Linked DNA regions of Homo sapiens: region 2 is linked to region 1. Evidence: promoter capture Hi-C in 16 types of primary human blood cells and fetal thymus (Javierre and others, 2016). All regions are on one chromosome and are shown on one strand. Each heading gives the region's core, a stretch centred on a gene start or on the middle of the fragment in contact. The rest is flanking DNA. Distances are from core to core; before and after follow the strand shown. Region 1 overlaps TUBGCP3 (tubulin gamma complex component 3). Region 2 holds the start of NAXD (NAD(P)HX dehydratase).

Evidence for each region. The method cuts DNA at HindIII sites, captures the fragments that hold promoters and counts their contacts. A CHiCAGO score of 5 or more calls a contact.
Region 2: a contact is called between the fragment with the promoter of NAXD here and a fragment that was not itself captured in region 1, in 1 of 17 cell types (naive CD8 T cells). The highest score is 5.7, in naive CD8 T cells.

What each region holds. Positions count from the first base shown.
Region 1 is chr13:112,583,789-112,586,536 of GRCh38, forward strand. The region is part of intron 1 of TUBGCP3 (tubulin gamma complex component 3); the gene reads right to left. Among named protein-coding and RNA genes, the nearest start is that of TUBGCP3, 3.0 kb to the right of the region's middle. The HindIII fragment of the contact is 1,631 bases long and covers 466-2,096 here.
Region 2 is chr13:110,614,005-110,616,869 of GRCh38, forward strand. It overlaps NAXD (NAD(P)HX dehydratase), which reads left to right and starts at 1,541. Exons shown (of 10, transcript NM_001242882.2): 1 at 1,541-1,643. The coding sequence starts at 1,598. NAXD-AS1 (NAXD antisense RNA 1) reads right to left here and starts at 2,349. Exons shown (of 1, transcript NR_182301.1): 1 at 1-2,349. RefSeq lists enhancers at 622-1,549, 2,451-2,500, 2,521-2,570 and silencers at 1,751-2,000, 2,011-2,170. The HindIII fragment of the contact is 4,814 bases long and covers 1-2,865 here.

The sequences.
Region 1 (2,748 bases), core at 31-2,530:
GATGGGGGAGGGGTCAGGAGGGCGTTGGGAGTAAGCCACAGTGCTTAGTAGAGGAACAGAGCACATACACTAGCCACCCTTGACTCCAGATGCAAGTCAGAGTAACTTATCACGCATTTTAATGTTTCGGATGCCAAGCTCCAACAGACACCTACAGGATCAGAAGCCCTAGAGATGAAGCCCACAATATTAATTCTGAGTAAGTCCCACATTTAGAGAGTTTAAAATGAAAAGGCATGAAGTTAGATACCATAAAAAGTCCTGTTCTCAACCACTGGCCACCAGCTCCCCTTCCCACAGGCAATCAACGTTATCAGGTTCTTGTGAAATCACAGGCGATTCCAATGCATGGCTCTAGTTGAAAAGCAATGCTCTAAAACAACAAAAACATTACTCTAGATGCGTGGTTCTCAAACTCTTTGGTCTCAGGGCTTCTTTACACTATTACGATTGAGAACTCCAAAAAGCTTTTGTTTATGTAGGTTATATCTATCCACAGTTACCATATTAGAAATTTAAGCCAAAACAATTTTTAAATTTTAACTTATTGAAAAATAGTAAATCCATCAAGTACAACTTGAAACAAAGCCTGAAACTCTGAAGTTTTAATACACATCTAATGTATATCTTAATATACATGTAATACACATTGATCTTCCCAAGAATGTAATTATATAACCAAAGGAAGATCACATGGTATTTGGAACTTCATCAAAAGCTCTTTACCATTTTGGAAAATCATGAAACCAATAGCAACACCACTTGTGGTACTGAATCACCAAAACAATAATCCTTTATCTTCTGATAGTGGCTTGTAGGACACTCATAGAGGTCTTGCATATTATGGCAATCATCTTCGAATATGCTGTGTACTGTAGTCATACCTGAACATTTATGATGAAATACTTATCTAATATAAATTCCTCTTTATGTATTCTTTACCTCATAGTTAGAAAAAGGATTACAAAGTAGCTATGAAAAGAAGTGTTACCTCTGACAGATTTGAACATTAACATCAAGCACACTGTTTCCAATGATAAGAATAATTACGCAAAGACATAATAAATAAATGTGCTCCCAGGAGGGGCAGGGATATGGAGACAGGATTTGACTATGACTGGCTGGCAGTATGTGTTTCAAGCAAATTCACAGATGTTATAAGTTGGAAAAGGTGGTAAATCATGGTCATGCTAACTTTGTAAAACTGTCAAGCACCATTATATGTAGGTGCTTTGCTTCTGAAGGTCCCTTGAAGTCAACTGTATAATTTTTTAAAAGATACCTTATAAAAATGTGATTCATATGAAATTCTCATTAAAAGTAACAAGTACCTATTATGCCTTGATTTCATAGTACTAAAAAAAATGTATTACAAAAGCATAAGGCCAATTGTAATATGTCATCAAAGAATAAGGTAATTAATCAAATATTCTATGGAGTTACCAGATAAAATGCTCACTAATCAAATTTTTAACACCAAATATTGTAAAGGTAGTAATTAATATTGCTCCTTTGCTCACTAAGGTATAACAAATGAAAGAACAAGGTAAGCTACTATTTATAAATTCTTCAGTAAATAGCAGCATAATTTAAAATTATATCATAAATGCTTGACAATCCTAGCTATCTAGAACATAGCAAAAAGAGCATCACCTTTAATGGACTTCATGACATAATTTATTCAGAGAGGGCCGGGCGCAGTGGCTCGTGCCTGTAATCCCAGCACTTTGGGAGGCCAAGCGGCAGGGGGGTGGGGTGCAGATCACTTGAGGTCAGGAGTTGGAGACCAGCCTGGCCACATGGTGAAACCCCATCTCTACTAAAAACACAAAAATTAGCCAGGAGTGCTGGCATACACCTGTAATCCCAACTACTTGGGGGGCTGATGCAGGAGAATCACTTGAAGGAGGCAGAGGTTGCAGTGAGCCCAGATCATGCCACTGCACTCCAGCCTAGGTGACAGAGCAAGACTCCATCTCAAATAAATAAATAAATAAATTATTTATTCAGAGAGGACCCTGTCAGGATCTGAGAGCCCACTTTTAGACACAGTTCTAAATGGGAAGATAGTAGGATACAGAATTTTGCTGAAAAGAAGCTTTTCAGTCTCTTAGAAGGGACAAAACTTTTATATCAAAGAATCTTCAATGTAAAAAAAAAAAAGTTTTTGGCTGGGCGCGGTGGCTCACACCTCTAATCCCAGCACTTCGGGAGGCCGAGGCGGGTGCATCACGAGGTCAGGAGATCGAAACCATCCTGGCTAACACAGTGAAACCCCGTCTCTACTAAAAATACAAAAAATGAGCCAGGCGTGGTGGCGGGCGCCTGTAGTCCCAGCTACTCGGGAGGCTGAGGCAGGAGAATGGCATGAACCCGGAAGGTAGAGCTTGGCAGTGAGCCGAGATCACACCACTGCACTCCAGCCTGGGCGACCAGAGTGAGACTCTGTCTCAAAAAAAAAAAAAAGTTCTTAGGTTGAGAAATATCATTCTAGCTCATGATGAATGAATTTCAAAATCCAATTATAACAATGGGAATGTATGAATGTGTGGTTTATCCCTAGAAAAAAAAACTCTGGAACCACTGGTATAAGGAAAACACTGACATTAAGGTGGGTAAGTCCTAACAATCTTAGTTTTATCTGATTCCCCCTATGACGAGGAACATGAAACATGTGAAAGGAAACTCAGTCTGCTAATGACAAAAACAAACGATGGCAGGCCATGCTCATACCTCAAGACCTTTCCA
Region 2 (2,865 bases), core at 291-2,790, 2.0 Mb before region 1:
GGTTCACGCCATTCTCCTGCCTCAGCCTCCTGGGTAGCTGGGATTACAGGCGCCCGCCACCATGTCCGGCTAATTTTTTGTATTTTTAGTAGAGACAGGGTTTCACCGTGTTAGCCAAGATGGTCTCGATCTCCTGACCTTGTGATCCACCCGCCTCGGCCTCCCAAAGTGCTGGGCTTACAGGCATGAGCCACCACGCCCGGCCTCTTCATAATAAATCTTGCTGCTGCTCACTCTTTGGGTCTATGCCACCTTTAAGAGCTGTAACACTGTGAAGGTCCGCAGCTTCATTCTTGAAGTCAGTGAGACCATGAACCCACCGGCAGGAACTAACTCCACACATAGTTATAGTTATCTCTTGATTATAGGCTAAATAAGGAGGGGATTATTCATGAGTTTTCTGGGAAAGAGGTTGGCAATTGCTGGAACTGAGGGTTCCTCCCCTTTTTAGACCATATAGAGTAATTTCCTGATGTTGCCATAGCATTTGTAAACTCTCATGGCGCTGGTAGGAGTGTCCTTTAGCATGCTAATACGTTATAATCAGCAAATAATGAGCAATGAGGACACAGAGGTCACTTTTGTGGCCATCTTGGTTTTGGTAGGCTTTGGGCCAGTTTCTTTACTGTGTCATCTTATCAGTGCGGTCTTTGTGACCTGTATCTTGTGCCCACCACCTCATCCTGTGGCCAAGAATGTCTAACCCCCTGGGAATGCAGCCCAGTAGGTCTCACCCTCATTTTACCCAGTCCCTATTCAAGATGGAATCGCTCTGGTTAAAAGGCCTCTGACATGTTGAGCCATCCTTTCACCTCAGCCTCTCAAGTAGCTGGACTACAGGTGTGCCACACCATCCCCTGCTAATTTTCCAAAAAAATTTTGGTAGAGAAGGGGGTCTCCTTATGTTGTCCAGGCTGGTCTCAAACTCCTGGGCTCAAACGATCCTTCCATCTTGGCCTCCCAAAGCATTGGGATCACACGCGCGAGCCACCGCACCTGGCCCCACAAGTTTCTTTTAGCACCATGACGGTGGCTTCAAATAGGGCGGCAGTGGAGGTAAGAGGCCATCAGCCACAGGAGGAGCGTGGGTGGGAGGGCAGGAGAGGTCAGAATGCCTTCCAGGGGTTTGGGCCTCAGCGTTGGAGTGATGGAGCTGCCCTGACCTGAGACGGTGGAAAGCGAAGGGGCCTCGCAGCGAGCTGGTTTGGGGTTCAGGGCAGAGGTTGCGCCTGGAGCAGAAAGGCACCTGACTGCTATACTGGGGGCACATAGTGGGCCTCGGCACTCCACCTGCCAGCAAAATCATTTTCTATAACGCCGCAAGCCTAAAAATGGGCCGATAAACACAAACCAGACCCTGAACCAGATCGTTGTTAACTCTTCAACCTGCCTTCCAGCCGAACCTCTTAGGCCAGAGCTGGGACCAGGCCGGGTTGGGCGTCGCGCTTGTCAATCATCTAGAACCGGGTGTGATTGAGCGAGTTGGGATCCCACTGCCGACAGCCGCGCGGAGGCGGTCGGGAAACCGGAAAACGCTTCCAATGGCTGTGTTTCCGGCGACGGCGCGGGGGCAGCTGGGAATCCGGAATGCTGCCCGATGGCCCTGGGTCCTCGCTGTGGGGCAATCCGGGCTTGCAGACGAGGTAAGGTCGATTCCATTTGGCCCGGGGATGGTCACACGCGCGGGGGCCGGAACTGCCGTCGCCGGCGCGGTCGTTGTCGCATTGCTCTCGGCCGCACTCGCGCTGTACGGGCCGCCACTGGACGCAGGTACCCGACCGCTGACCGCCTCTGCTGGCTCGCGGGGGGGAAGCGCCGCCGAGGGGCAGCCCGCGCGCGGGGCCGGGGCGCCGTGTGGCCTGCGGGGCGGAGTAGGGAGAGGACGGAGGCCTCCTGGAACGGCGCGGCGACGGCTGGGCGCGGCTTGGGTGATGGGAGCCTCCGTGCGGGGTGACAGAGGGGCAGAGGGTGGCGCCGGGCCGGAGCCAGTGCGCGTCCCAGGAGCGGCGGAGCCCGCGCGGTGGCCGGGGAACGGGGGGCCGAGGGCCGAGGACGGTAGGAGGGCCCTGGGGCGCCGTGGTGCGCTGGTCGGATCCGTCTGCTCTGCTCTGTCCCCGCTCCCGGTCTGGGAAAGATGCTCGCCAACTGCGGGCTTGCTGTTTGGTCGGAGCTGGATACGGGGGCCCTCCTGGGGCCCAGGGACGCGGCGGGCGTGCAGGCGAGCTGGCCGGCTGAGCGGGCTTCGCGCACACCAGGAGCAGGGCCGTGTCTGCATCCCCAATTTGAAGTCCCAGTGCGACTGGGCAAGTACAGACCCTGCACGTCCTTGGACGAGAGGGACTGGATATTGCGACGCCTGGGCCGCAGAAAAGGACTCCACCAGCCAGGCCTCCTTCGCCCGCCCCCGGTTCGGGGTGTGTGTGTGCGTGTAGGAGGTCCCTTGGGGAGGGAGGCTCACCTGAGTCATCCCCAGAACCTGAAGTGCTGGCCAGATGTCCCCGAGGGCCCTGCCCTGGCCTTGGCTGGTCCTTGCACGCTGAGATGCCTTTTCAAATAGAACGGATAAGGTAGAAAGAATTTAAACAGGAGCTGAGCAAGTGCTTGGAGCCCCATCTCTTCATAGGGTTTTTTTGTCTTTCTGTTTGCCTTGTTGGTATTGGTGTATCTAACATATTTTATACAGGAAGTAGTTCGTGTATATCTCATTTCTCATAAGGAGAGATTGCTGTTATCCACCTTGGTATAGAAGATAAATAGAAGCTCAGAGAAAGTGACTTAGCCAGGATTCTCCAGCCAGTGAGTGGCCGAAATGGTTAAACGCACCATTTGTTGCTGTAGTCATTAGATAGATTTTACCTTGTGTGT